5 separate regions of the Homo sapiens genome follow, and regions 2, 3, 4 and 5 are each linked to region 1. The links are contacts of gene promoters, found by promoter capture Hi-C in blood cells and fetal thymus (Javierre and others, 2016). All regions are on one chromosome and are shown on one strand. Each heading gives the region's core, a stretch centred on a gene start or on the middle of the fragment in contact. The rest is flanking DNA. Distances are from core to core; before and after follow the strand shown.

Region 1 (2,700 bases), core at 71-2,570:
ATGCTGTATCAAATATACATTTGCTTTAAAGTTAAAATTAGAGGATACAGAATAAGTGTGGCTAACAAACTCAACAAACCACATTTACCTGTTGATTTCATCTAATGAGGTAAGTTTAGAAAGCACAATCGTCATTCTACCCCTTCCAGATGCTGAACTTCTAATCCAAAAATCAGACTCACCTCGACAAGCTTCTTCAAAATCTTGGGTAATGTCCACCCAGTTTGTATTGCTTTTCTCCATTTTTTCTGGCATACTGAGCTCCCATCCTGAATCGTCATCATCTACAGAAGCTTTCATAACCATTATGCCTGTAAAATTAATACTGATGTAAGAGAGAGGATGTAGCTTTCAGGGCAAGAGTATTTGCAGAAATGGGTGTTTGTTTCAGCATAGGATGAAGTCTTAACTAAACTCTTTAAAGCAGAACTCTTCTGAGTCTAAGGACAGTACTGCAAAGAATAACCTTAATGCAATCAAATCGCACGTCAATTAACACTCCTGCTGCTTACTATTAGCCCACCACCTACCAGGGCCCATAAACATTTTGCCTTCCTACTGTTTAAGAAGAAAAATCACAAACCATCTCACCTCTGGCCCGAAAAGAACAACTCCAGAGCTTCCAACTTTCAATAATAGCCACAAAAGACCAAGGCACTATTCAGGGTCCCCTCTCGCAGCCCAGGACCCCATGCGGCAGCTACCGAAGTCAATCAAGGTAGCCCTTCATCTGGCCAGAGCTCGCTGGGACCTCTCCCGGGCCAGAGCCGGCCCGGACCCAGGCAGAACCTCGCCGGGAGCAATGAGGAGCCGGCAGGCACCGCAGGGTCCCGCCGGCCGGGCCTAGGGCCGAGGCACACCTGAGGCGGGCACACGCTTCCCTTCCGCCCTGCCCGGGTCAGCCCAGCCCAGCCCCGGTCCCACTGGGCGCATAAGCAAGGACAGAGCTGTCGCCGCGCGGGAGGGCGGGCACGTCCGGCGCCGGGTCGTCGCCTCGGCAACACCGGGCAAGAGTGGGGCCTCGGCCGACAGCGGGCACTGGGGAGCCCGCCGCTCCTACCTGACGCGCAGCGGGAGGGCCGGGGCCGCAGGGTGACCTGGGGTCCCCAGGATCTGCCACACGCGCGGGGGGCTGCGGCTCTCGGACACACGAGCGAGAGGGTTTCAATGGCTACGCAGGGGCGGTCCCTACCTACTTCTCCCGTGGTCACCCGCGCCGCCACGCACTGTCCGGACCACGGAAATAACGACGCCGCCTCGGCCGCCGCCGCCCCCTCCCCTCTCAGCCCAGCCCGACCGGCAGCGTGCACGCATGCGTATGCCCGGGACGCGCGACCCCGCCCCCTCTCCCTTACTCCCGGGGACTTCGCGCTCCCCGGCCACACCCCCTCCCTCGCCACCGCCTCCGTTCGGCCGATGGCGGCCGCCTTCTCTTCTCGCGAGATTAGAGACGATCGCGAGACCGGAAGTTATCTTTTTTCACCCTCTGTCGGAGTCCTGGGTAGTGGGCGGTTCCCGGAAAGAGGCGGAGCCCGGAGTCTCAGAGCCCGCCCCGTCTGCGCTGCCCTCTGGGAATTTCTTAGAAAGGTGACGCGAAGGCGGAAGGAAACCGTGGAGGTTTGCGTAGACCTTAGTGGTTGCGAGCACGAACGAGCAGCCAAGCTCCGAGAGCAACAGCGTGCTACTGCTGCCTGACAACGGATTTATGTTTCCTATACAGCGCCTGGGAGTTTCGTGAGGAAACATAGATTCAAAATATCTGCAAAGTCAAGCCAGACATTTAATTTCAGATTCTTATATGTTTTAGATTTTTTTAATTTATTAATAAAATGATCAGTTTTTAAATGGGGTTACATAAATAGACGGGCGCAGGTAAGAAGCACATCTTTATCACCACCTGTTCTTTAGGATGGCCCAAAATTAAAAGATGGAAAAGATAATACCAAATGTTGGCAAGGATGCAGAGCAACTGGACCTCTGTTATGTTGGTGGTGGTAATGCAAAATGGTACAACCACTTTGGAAAACTTAACAATCTCTCCTTATAATCATATACTTATCATTCGATCCAGTAATCTACGAATTTACTTAGGAACAAAAACATATTCATACAAAGGCTTGTACGTTAATGTTCATACCAGCTTTGTTTTGCTTTGTTTTTGTTTTTGTTTGAGACAGAGTGTCACTCTTGTCGCCCCTGCTAGAGTGCAGTGACCTGATCTCGGCTCATTGCAACCTCTGCCTTTCAGGTTCAAGCAATTCTCGTGCCTCAGTCTCCCGAGTAGCTGGGATTACAGGCGCCTGCCCCCACACCAGGCTGTTTTTTGTATTTTTAGTAGAGATGGGGTTTCACCATGTTGGTCAGGCTGATCTCAAACTCCTGACCTCGTGATCTGCCCACCTCAGCCTCCCAGAGTGCTGGGATTACAGGTATGAGCCACCGTGCCTGGCCCAGCTTTGTTTTTAATCATCAAAAACTACAGACAACCCAAATGTCCATCAACTGTTGAATAAAAACAATTTGTGGCATATCCATACAATGTAATGAATGTAATTATCAATAAACAGGGATAAACTACTTGACATACAACATGAATGAATTTCAAAAATATATTGAGTAAAAGAAATCAGGCTGAGCTTGGTAGCTGGTAGCTCATGCGTGTAATCCCAACACTTTGGGAGGCTGGCAGTGGAGAGGTCG
Region 2 (2,777 bases), core at 75-2,574, 2.3 Mb after region 1:
TGGGGTATTTGCATTAGAGATACTCCACCGCTAGGCCAAGAATATGAGATTGGCTGTGTATACTGTATTCAACTAGAAAGAAAGGAACAGGACTGAAGATAGAAGTCTGAGGAATGGATTATTTTGGACGTGGTAAGAGCTAACTGTGGCTCGAACTAAATTTGGTCTCATTAACATAAAAAGAATAAGGATATTGGGAAGCAATGCATTGTTAGGCCTTAGCAGAGGATCGAATATAGGATATGTGCACCTATAGTAGGACCTTTGTGTTAGAGATGAAGTAATAATCATTTCTTACTAACATCAAGATACTGACATAAAAAGGATGCATCTCTGTATTGTTTTGAATTGGGGATTTTTTGTTTTGTTTTGTTTTTAGAGGCGGGATATCACTCTGTCACCCAGGCTGGAGTGCAGTGGTGTGATAATAGCTCACTGCAGCCTCGAACTCCTGGACTCAGGCAGTCCTCCTGCCTCAGCCTCCTGGAACATTGGGATTATGGTGTTTGAATTGTAGCGTCTGTAGTAGGGGCCTCTATGAGGTACCTGTAGAAACTAGACTGTATGGTGCTGTGCAAACAACTGTAATACATACTTATTTTATTTTTATTTAGTTTAAGGAAGAAATCTCTAAACGTTTTAAATCACATACTGACCAACTTGTGTTGATATTTGCTGGAAAAATTTTGAAAGATCAAGATACCTTGAGTCAGCATGGAATTCATGATGGACTTACTGTTCACCTTGTCATTAAAACACAAAACAGGTATGGTTTTGGAAGATGTACAGCTTTAAAATTGTGGATAAATGTTCGTACTTCTAAAAGTAACTAGTGTTGGCTGTAAATTACTTTCCCTGTCATTAATATTTAAATAGTTAAAATTCTTTCCTTGCTGTCGATAACAATTTTTTTAAAAAGTGTGATTCCATGTTAATGCTTACGTGATTGTCAGATAACCATTTCATATTTTACAAGGTTCATTGGTATTTAGTTATTATACCTAAATTATTTGCATTAGAACAGGCAAGTTTTTAGCTTTTCTTTTAGTAAGGAAATTTTTAGACAAAGATCATGAGTAACTTATCTCCTTAGCAAACCACGAATTGATAATCATATTTCTTTAAGTCTAAGGAACTTTTTTTTTTTTTTTTTTAAGAGACAGAGTCATGCCATGTTGCCCAGGCTGGGCTCAAGTGATGCTCCCATGTCAGCCTGGGACTGTAGGTGCGTGCCACAGTGTCCAGCTGGCACCACCAGTTTTAAAGAGATACCTTTGTGTATCACTAAGAAAGAATACTGCTAACTGAATTGATGTTTTCTTGTCACTTAAAATGTTTATTTTATACTTAGTGAAAGAGCTCCTTTAGACTTACATGGGTATGGAATTTTATCATATCACTCTTGCATAACATACGAAGACTTAGTTGTCAGTGTCCATATTTTTTCATACAGTATCAAACTCTGTTCTGTCAAGAGTGTTGGTGGTGTAGCATTGCTTAAAAGAGCTCTCCAGTATTTTCTCCAGGATTTTGTTCCAAGCCATTAACACTCCTGTAAGTTTTTATGCTGTTGTTTACCAACAGCAAATACTTGCTTTACTCATTCAACATATTCCTTCTATTTTGGTGCTATTCTGAATACATGGTAACTTCTGTCAGTGCCAATTAATAGTGTAATTATTTTGAAGACACTTAATGTGGTAATTAAGCCCGTTACATATGATACAACAGTGTACCCAGGCATTCAGTTGAAGTCATGTAGACTACATGTGCAGGCATGTAGTTGATGCCTGGCTGTCAGCAATTGTAAGACAGATCCTGATTTCGGAGATGTTAAAATAGAAAAATGTGTGCCTTAGCTAAATTCAGGGAAAGAAGCAATGAGTGGCATTCAAAACTCTTATCTGGTATCATCTGGAAGGGTTTTTTTTATTTCCTTACTTTTTTTTTTTTTTTTTTGAGACGGAATTTCACTCTTGTTGCCCAGGCTGGAGTGCAACGGTGCGATCTCAGCTCACTGCAACGTCTGCCTCTGGGTTCAAGCGATTCTCCCGCCTCAGCCTCCCAAGTAGCTGGAATTACAGGCATGCGCCACCACGCCCGGCTAATTTTGTATTTTTGATAGAGACGGGGTTTCCTCATGTTGGCCAGGCTGGTCACGAACTCCTGAACTCAGGTGATCCACCAGCCTTGGCCTCCCAAAGTGCTGGGATTACAGGTGTGAGCCACCTTGTCTGGCTTATTTCCTTTTAGAGATAATACTAAGTAATAATCAGGCCAGGCGCGGTGGCTCACACCTGAAATCTGAGCACTTTGGGAGGGTGAGGTGGGCAGATCACCTGAGGTCAGGAGTTCCAGAGCAGCGTGGTAAACATGGTGAAACGCTGTCTCTACTAAAAATACAAAAAATTGCCCAGCACAGTGGTGTGCACCTGTAGTCCCAGCTACTCGGGAGGCTGAGGCAGGAGAATCGCTTGAACCTGGGAGGTGGAGGTTACAGTGAGCCGAGATCATGCCACTGCACCTCCAGCCTGGGTGACAGAGCAAGACTCTGTCTTTAAAAAAATAAATAAATAAAGTAATAATTATTAATCATATTGATTTGTTGGCTTTCTTTTGGTGAAGTCTCTCGCTTTTTATTGTTTTCAAGAATTTCAAGGGCCAGAGTAAAACTGGCTCATAACCCTCAAGAACTAGAAGGGGATAGATAAAAAAGTTGTGGGTTTTTTTGTTTGTTTGTTTGTTTGTTTTTCAAGAGTCTCTCTCTGTCACCCAGG
Region 3 (2,700 bases), core at 12-2,511, 2.0 Mb before region 1:
CCCCTTTTGCCCTTTTTTGTCCACTTGTTCACCTTTATTTACCTATTTCTTTCATTTCTCACACATTCACTCTCATTTGCCTACTTATTTCTTAATGTATTCATTCATTCACCGACTTTTTTTCTCAAAACATGTAGTGATTTATAATGTAACTAGCACCTATTGAGCTCCCGATGTGTTCTGCAGGCATTATATACATTGTCATTTTGAGACCTCTTTACTACTGTACAAGGCAGGTTTCCAGATCTCTGTTTCTCAGGTGAGAGGAGGAGGTTATGTCACCAGCTCTTGGGCCCTCCGTTAGTCAGTAGAGGGTTTGGCCCAGGTTTGATTGAGAGTCCATTCTTCCCTTGGGACCTCCCATAGGCTCTACCCTGTGTTGGGCACTGGTGACACAGAGAAACCAGCTCCAGCCCAGCTCCTGAGGACTTAAGTGTGCTAACAAGAGACAGAGGCAACAGGGCCCACCTAGTGTGGTTCGTGCTGTGATAGGGTACCGGGAGGGGCTGCTGGAACACGAAGAGGGGCATCTTTCACCCCTAGTGTCATTACTCTTTTGGTGCTCTCTCTCACCCATGTCGAAATAGGGAATGTATTTGACTCCCTGGAGAGTTAACAGGGTTGGGTCTCTGTGATCTGGAGATATGCATGATATATTGGATGACAAAAGCATGTTATAAAATTTTGTGTCATCTGGGTTTTGTTTGGAAATATTATATATGTGAATGTGTATTTGTGTGTGCCATATCTGTTGTAAAGTCTGGTAGAATACACTCTAAGATTGACTGTAGGATTTTTCTTTTGTTCTTTTTCTGTTGGATTTTATGTCTTACCTGAATGTGTGCATGTGTTTTGATCTGTTAAATGGTTGTGTACTACCTGAAAAATCCGAAAACAGCAATCAGGCCATTTTGATTTTTTGAGGAAGATAAAAGGGCTTCCAGACAGCCATGTGTGGGATAGGTGGAGAGATCCATAAGGAAGCTGGTGATATGGTCCCTACATCCAGTTGGTCAGCAATTCTGAAGGTTCTAACTTTAAAACATACTCTAGATTTGCTCCTTGCCCAAGTCATCATCACCACTCATCAGAATGACAGTGGCAGCCTCCCCACTGCTCTCCATAGCCACAGTCCGGAGGGCTTTGTCAAAAGTGTAAGTTAAGTCATCGGCTCCCCTGCGTAAAAAGCCCTGGTGGCTTCTCTTCACACTTAGAGCACTATCACCATGTGCCCACCTCCAGCTGGCCTCTCCCTTTTCTCTCATTCAACACAACTTCTTAGGCATCTCTCCAGTGACCAGCACCTATCTAGGGTCCAGGAGCACAGAACAAGGCAGACACATCCTTCCCTTAAACAATCTCATGTACTCACATCCCTCTAGCCTCCTTCTGTGCTGGCGTTAGGGCCTTGCACTTGCTTTTCTTCCTGCTCAGAGCTTTATCCCAGATCCCCACAAACTGGGTCCTCATCTAGCCCCACCCCACCTAAATAAAGAAGTATCCTTTTCTCCACTCACAGAATCACACTATCCTCTTCTAGTTCTGTTGATTTTTTTTCTTTTTTTGATACAGGGTCTCACTCTGTCACCCAGGCTGGAGTGTAGAAGTGCGATTTTGTCTCCCTGTAGTCTCAACCTCCTGGGCTCAGGTGATCCTCCCACCTCAGCTTCCCAAGTAGCTAGGACTACAGGCACGTGTCACCATGCCTGGCTAGTTTTTTGTATTTTTTGTAGAGACAAGGTTTCACCATGTTGCCCAGGCTGGTCTCAAACACCTGGGTTCAAGCCATCCGCCCACCTTGGCCTCTCAAAGTACTGGGATTACGGGCATGAGACGTCATGCCCAGCCCCCTTGTATTTTGGTTCCTGTACTTACAGAATCTGAATATATCCCTTTTATTCATTTATTTGTTAAACTGTTTGTCCTTTGTGCTGTGAGTTCATTAAGAGTCCTGTCTCTCAGCTCACTCTCTGTGTAGCCTGGCTCCTCTGACAGTACTGGCCTCAGTGTTTGTGATGTGTCTGTAGCTGTCCCAGCACTGGGAAAGGTGGGATTCCTGGTGTCCTTTCCTTGGTGCTGGGATTCGGTGGTTCTAGAGGAAACAGGAGGAGACCTGTCCATCTCATGTGTGACCATCCAGATGATTTTCAGGCGGGTAGGCTGGGTGGGCGGACCAGATGGTGCCACTAAATGACCTTTTTTAGACCTTTTAGTGTTCATGGAGAATTAGAGTGGGGGCACACCTTATCTCAGGAGAGCAGAGCAAATCATGAGCATCGAGCTCTCTGATTCTTAGCTCAGGTCCACGTCACCTTCTTTGCTTACTGTCTTTTTGGATACAGGGTCCTCTGTCAGGGCATGGGCTGGGGTCTCAGGGTCACAGAGAGGGTCTGGTGACTTGAGTCTGGGGGCTAACAAGATGTCCTGCCCACAGGTGGTACAACTGAAGGCTGTGTTCCCACACGGTGGAGGCTTTGTGCTGGCCTTTGAGTTCATGCTGTCGGATCTGGCCGAGGTGGTGCGCCATGCCCAGAGGCCACTAGCCCAGGCACAGGTCAAGAGCTACCTGCAGATGCTGCTCAAGGGTGTCGCCTTCTGCCATGCCAACAACATTGTACATCGGGTCAGTCTCAGCATAGGCCGGGCATGGGGTCTGGGGAGCTGACTTGGCTTGGGGATGGGGCTAGCCCTTGTAAAAGG
Region 4 (2,700 bases), core at 188-2,687, 2.4 Mb before region 1:
GCTTTTGTTATATTTTGGAGAAGGAGTCTTGCTATTTCGCCCAGGCCTGGCTTGAACTGTCCATCCTTCACCTTGGCTTCCTGAATAGCTGGGGCTACAAGCATGCACCACCAACCCTGGCATATAGTTAATTTCTTTGCAGTTTCTCAACCATACTCAACTTCTAGAGATTGGATCAAAGGTTCTACATATATTTTTCCTCCTATAGCAAGCTTATTAAATACAAATTGGCATGTTAAAAACCTTGGCCGGCTGGGCGCGGTGGCTCATGCCTATAATCCCAACACTTTGAGAGGCAGAGGTGGGCAGATCACCTGAGGTCAGGAGTTCGAGACCAGCCTGACCAACACGGTGAAACCCCTTCTCTACTAAAAATACAAAAAAATTAGCCGGGCTTGGTGGCAGGCGCCTGTAATCCCAGCTACTCGGGAGGCTGAGACAGAAGAATCGCTTGAACCTGGGAGGCAGAGGTTGCAGTGAGCCGAGATCGCGCCGTTGCACTCCAGCCTGGGCAATAAGAGCGAAACTCCGTCTCAAAAATAAATAAATAAATAAAAGCCTTGGCCTATACTAGATGTATATGTCTTTTAACTCTGGGTTCCTGGGCTCCTACTTGGGAGGATTTCTGCCCCAAGGATGAATATGCTTGTGATTTGGAGTGGAAGAAGGAAGAGATACCAAAGGCATGAGGGGTGGTTATATCTACGGTGAACCTTGATATGTTCACCCCACTGGCATTGATGTAATAATTGGAAACTGACCCTAGGGATCCTTTTCAAATTAGTATATTTATTATAGAATTATTCAACACAGCGAAAAGTATTCAGTATCCAATATATACCCCAAGTACATGGATAATTATTTGATTGGCTTAACCTCTAGGTGGGTGAGCTTGAAGATCCACCTTTAGGAAAGGATGCTGTCTCCCCAGTGGTTGCCTGTGTCATACACAGATGGGTCAGGCAGCGGTCATCCAGCTAGGACTGCTCAGGTTCTCCCGTTGAGTGAATATTAACATGTTGGCCCTTAATATGATTGAGGTTCATGCTGGTTCTCCCACTCACACTCATGGCTATAGATTTATGGATGTGCTGATTAGGCAGCTCTAAATGCTATGGTTTGAGTGTTTATCTCCTCCAAACTCATGTTGAAATATAGCCCCCAGTGTGGCAATATTGAGAGGTGGGGCTTTTAAGAGGTATAGTCCATACATGGATTAGTGGATTAATGGGTTGTTATGAAAGTGGAACTGATGGTTTTATAAGAGGAAGAGAGACCTGAGCTAGCAAGTGAGCTCACTCAGCCCCCTCTCCATGTGATGCCCTGCACAGTCTCAGGACTCTGCAGAGAGTCCCCACTAGCAAGAAGGCCCTCTTGAGCTTGGACTTCCCAGCCTCCATAACTGTAAGAAATAAATTTCCCTTGTGGCCGGGCATGCTGGCTCATGCCTATAATCCCAGCACTTTGGGAGGCGAAGGAGGGCGGATCACCTGAGGTCAGGAGTTGGAGACTAGCCTGGCCAACATGGTGAAACCCCGTCTCTACTAAAAATACAAAAATTATCTGGGCATGGTGGCACATGCTTGTAGTCCCAGCTATTTGGGAGTGTGAGGCACAAGAATCGCTTGAACCCGGGAGATGGAGGTTGCAGTGAGTCGAGATCATGCCACTGCACTCCAGCCTAGGCAACAAAGTGAAACTCCATCTCAAAAAAAAAGAAAAAAGGAAACTTCCTTTCTTTATAAATTACCCAGTTTCAAGCAACAGAAAATAGACTAAGACACCTAACATGTGAATCCTGATAAGATGGTGGCCTCACTGAGACAGAGGCAGCTCTTCTGTGTTGGATGTGATGAGGCACTGGGGCCAGATCTCTGACTGAGAGCCACAACTGATACAGGCTCCACGTGAGGAAGTGTGGTGTCCATCCAGGCTGTCGGTCAGAACCGAAGTCACCAGCACCTGCCTGGATGGTCAGCATTAGGACCAGAGGAGGGGAACAAATAAGGAAAGCACAAACAGAGACAGGGTCAGAAACAAACTGAGCACACACAGCCCTGCTGGGAGCCTCTCTGGGTGTTGTCTGCTCACCTGGGTTCCAGGAGGCTGGCAAGGGTGGGAGCATGCTCCATCCCTCCTCTAGCCCTCTGTCACATTATCATAGTCTTATAAGCTCCCAGCATACATCCTTTGCTCTATCCTTTGCCGTATCTCCACTGCCTAGACAAAAGTCTGGTGAGAGTAGGGGGTCAATAAAGACACTATAAGGGTGGGCACTGTGGCTCTCACGCCTGTAATCCCAGCACTTTGGGAGGCCTGGGCAGGAGTATTGTTTGAACCCAGGAGTTCCATACCAGCTTGGGCAAGTTCCATACCGGCTCAGGGCTTATTGATGGTTTAGAGTCTCTGTGGATGGCTTCCCCATGTTCACGCTACAACTTCAATACAGAAGTTATTCTTCCATGGGAAGTAATTGGTTTAAAAAAAACAAACCCAGGTGGTCTGTGGAGGAGCCACACCCAGTCTTAGGCCCAGCCCCCATCCTCTGACCCTTTCTCCCACTATCCCATCACCTTGCTAGAGTGTGAGTCTTGAATGGTGGGGGCCTGTTTAGTTTACTTCTCAGGAAGCCTCCGACTACTGGACTCGACACCAAAGCTTCTTCCTGATAAAGAAGAATATCAGACAAGATAAGTTTAA
Region 5 (2,700 bases), core at 36-2,535, 2.3 Mb after region 1:
AGAGAGAATATGCCTCATTTTTTTGTTTTTGTTCTTCTGGAGATCCCTCTTGTGGACAGTATCTTCCCTTTTCCTTTTTTTATTTATGTTCTACCTTCCTCCCTTTTAAGTGCCAGCTGAGGCACTTGGGGGAAGATAGAATAAAACAAGGTACATTACTTGTTTCAGATATTTCCAGTTAAAATTGTTTGAACACTTGCCCCATAGATGATGCTGAATAATCCCCTATTTGCTGGAAATCCTCAGCTTCAAGAACAAATGAGACAACAGCTCCCAACTTTCCTCCAACAAGTGAGTAAGACAAGATGTTAGCTATCTTGGGTAATGATTTGCTTGAAAAAATTTGATGATAAACATTTTTCCTTGCTCTTCTCTGGCTGATAGCAAAACATAGAATAGAGACCAATAATGCTGTCAATTCGTAGAGAATTCAGCTTGATCTTCACTGAGTCCCATTTCACTGCTGACCTTTTGCTTATGTTTCTTAAACATACATTCTGAGGAAAGAACATTTTGTTTTTGCTTTTGAGGACCTAGGATTTTGAATGCTTTGTTAATACCATAAACCATTTCCTTTCATTGTACTAACTTTGAAGTGCTTCCTTGTGTCATGTTACGCTTTATGGTTTAACTAATTTTGAGTAACAGGAAAGAGCTACCCTATTCTATTTTATAGGTTTTCTTCCAAATTAGTAGAAGGCTTTTTTTCCCCAAGGGGTAGATCTCATTTCCTCAAACTCGGGATTAGTAAGATTAAAATAGTCAGTGTTGTCATATAAGGAAGTAAGGAAGGTTATAGTATAAACGAGTACTTGAGATTGCCATGGTATTTTATTATTTAAAACGACAAAAGAGAAGTCAGTCTTGGTGTTTTGAAACTGGTAGTTCTAGGGCCTCATGTATTATGCAAATGACTCTCAGACCTGTAAACCATTTTCCAAGGTTGGTGTCCTTGATCTATTGTAATGATGTAAGCCTATCTTTGGTTAGTCAGGTGGTGTATATTTGGAAGTAGTAAAGCTAAACTCAGGATACATGTATTAACGTCAAATTTGGAACTGTTGTTTTAGAGTGTACCTTACTGGTAAAATTGTTATATTAGTAACAGATAACACTTGGTTAGGTGGAATATGTGGCTTTTTACCATATCCACGTCGTAAGAATTGTGCCTTTGGAGGTTGTGTCTTAGAAGTAATACTTTATCTTCTGTTGGAGAAGGGGAATAGTTGTGGCTTCCAAAGTAGCTCCTGATTTTCTTCCATTATGGAAATGGCTTTCATGATGGACTTAGGAGGAGGTCAAGTAATAATTTGCACACTAGGTTTGCTGTCAAAGAGGAGATACTTGCGTTTATTTTGGGAAAGAAATTATGGATTACCAGTGTCCAGGAGTAAGGTTTTAGATTTTCTCCAGAAGCATAACAGAGAAAAGATTTAAAAATTTACGTTCACTGATTTTAATTCCTTTGTAACCACTAGTTTTCTTTCTTCCTTAGATGCAGAATCCTGATACACTATCAGCAATGTCAAACCCTAGAGCAATGCAGGCCTTGTTACAGATTCAGCAGGGTTTACAGACATTAGCAACGGAAGCCCCGGGCCTCATCCCAGGGTAGGCTTATTTGGGGAAGATAATGAAAGTGTATAATGGTTACTTTCTCTGAGAATTTCAGATTTAGTATTATTCTGCCTGCCTTTTTTTTTTTTTTTTTTTTTTTGGTGGGATACAGGGTCTCGCCCTTCGCCTAGGCTATGAGTGTGGGGGCGCAGTTGTGGCTCACTGCAGCCTCGACCTCTCGGGCTCAAGGGATTCTCTCACCTCAGCCTCCCAAGTAGCTGGGACTACAGGTGTGCACCACCACACCTAGCTAATTTATATATATAATTTGTTGTTGTTACTGTTTTTAGAGATGGAGCTTTGCCATGTTATCCAGGCTGGTCTCAAACTTCTGGGCTCAAGAGATTTGGCCTCCCAAAGTGGGATCAGAGACATGAGCCATAGCACCTGGTTCTCCCCCACCGTTTTTATTTATTTATTTACTTATTTATTTATTAAGAGATCGGTTTTTGCTCTTTTACCCTGGCTGAACTTGAACTTCTAAGCTCAGGTGATCCTCCCACCTCAGCCTCCCCAGTAGTTGGGACACAGTGCCTGGCTATGATTGTTTTTAAGTCAGGGTTTTCAAAGTTAAAAATGATTATTATTATTTTTTAAATTCCTTTTAGAGATAGTCTCACTCCATCGAGCAGACTGGAGTGCAGTGGCGCGATCTCAGCTCACTTCAGCCTCTACCTCCTGGGCTAAAGCAATCCTCTTACCTCAGCCTGCCAAGTAACTGATACTACAGGTGTGCACCAGCACACCCAGCTAATTTTGTTTTTATTTTTTGTAGAGATGAAGTCTCAACAATGTTGCCTAAGCTGATCTCAAATTCCTGGGCTGCTGGGATCATCGGTCTCCCAGAATGAGCCACTGCACCAGGCCAAAAGGGCTTATTTTAAGAAGATGGCTTAGCTTATATTAAAATGTAACTGATTTACGGACTGGCTTCTGGTTTTGCAGGACCTTAGGATATTTCCTATTTGTGCTTTCTGTAGGTTTACTCCTGGCTTGGGGGCATTAGGAAGCACTGGAGGCTCTTCGGGAACTAATGGATCTAACGCCACACCTAGTGAAAACACAAGTCCCACAGCAGGAACC

What was found. The method cuts DNA at HindIII sites, captures the fragments that hold promoters and counts their contacts. A CHiCAGO score of 5 or more calls a contact.
Region 2: a contact is called between a fragment that was not itself captured here and the fragment with the promoter of NAA35 in region 1, in 1 of 17 cell types (non-activated CD4 T cells). The highest score is 5.7, in non-activated CD4 T cells.
Region 3: a contact is called between a fragment that was not itself captured here and the fragment with the promoter of NAA35 in region 1, in 5 of 17 cell types (fetal thymus, total CD8 T cells, naive CD8 T cells and 2 more). The highest score is 9.9, in fetal thymus.
Region 4: a fragment that was not itself captured here is called in contact with the fragment with the promoter of NAA35 in region 1 in 1 of 17 cell types (total B cells); the score reaches 5.1 in total B cells.
Region 5: a contact is called between a fragment that was not itself captured here and the fragment with the promoter of NAA35 in region 1, in 1 of 17 cell types (non-activated CD4 T cells). The highest score is 5.7, in non-activated CD4 T cells.

The regions. Positions count from the first base shown.
Region 1 is chr9:85,939,766-85,942,465 of GRCh38, reverse strand. NAA35 (N-alpha-acetyltransferase 35, NatC auxiliary subunit) reads right to left here and starts at 1,320. Exons shown (of 23, transcript NM_024635.4): 1 at 1,193-1,320; 2 at 183-311. The coding sequence starts at 306. RefSeq lists a silencer at 737-1,416. The HindIII fragment of the contact is 5,629 bases long and covers 296-2,700 here.
Region 2 is chr9:83,683,993-83,686,769 of GRCh38, reverse strand. UBQLN1 (ubiquilin 1) reads left to right here. Exons shown (of 11, transcript NM_013438.5): 2 at 615-766. Among named protein-coding and RNA genes, the nearest start is that of UBQLN1-AS1, 22 kb to the left of the region's middle. The HindIII fragment of the contact is 3,472 bases long and covers 1-2,777 here.
Region 3 is chr9:87,971,070-87,973,769 of GRCh38, reverse strand. CDK20 (cyclin dependent kinase 20) reads left to right here. Exons shown (of 8, transcript NM_001039803.3): 3 at 2,435-2,623. Among named protein-coding and RNA genes, the nearest start is that of CDK20, 2.1 kb to the left of the region's middle. The HindIII fragment of the contact is 4,347 bases long and covers 1-2,700 here.
Region 4 is chr9:88,381,997-88,384,696 of GRCh38, reverse strand. No RefSeq gene overlaps it. Among named protein-coding and RNA genes, the nearest start is that of SPIN1, 5.1 kb to the left of the region's middle. The HindIII fragment of the contact is 2,446 bases long and covers 215-2,660 here.
Region 5 is chr9:83,663,941-83,666,640 of GRCh38, reverse strand. UBQLN1 (ubiquilin 1) reads left to right here. Exons shown (of 11, transcript NM_013438.5): 8 at 208-291; 9 at 1,496-1,611; 10 at 2,598-2,700. Among named protein-coding and RNA genes, the nearest start is that of IDNK, 42 kb to the right of the region's middle. The HindIII fragment of the contact is 5,914 bases long and covers 1-2,700 here.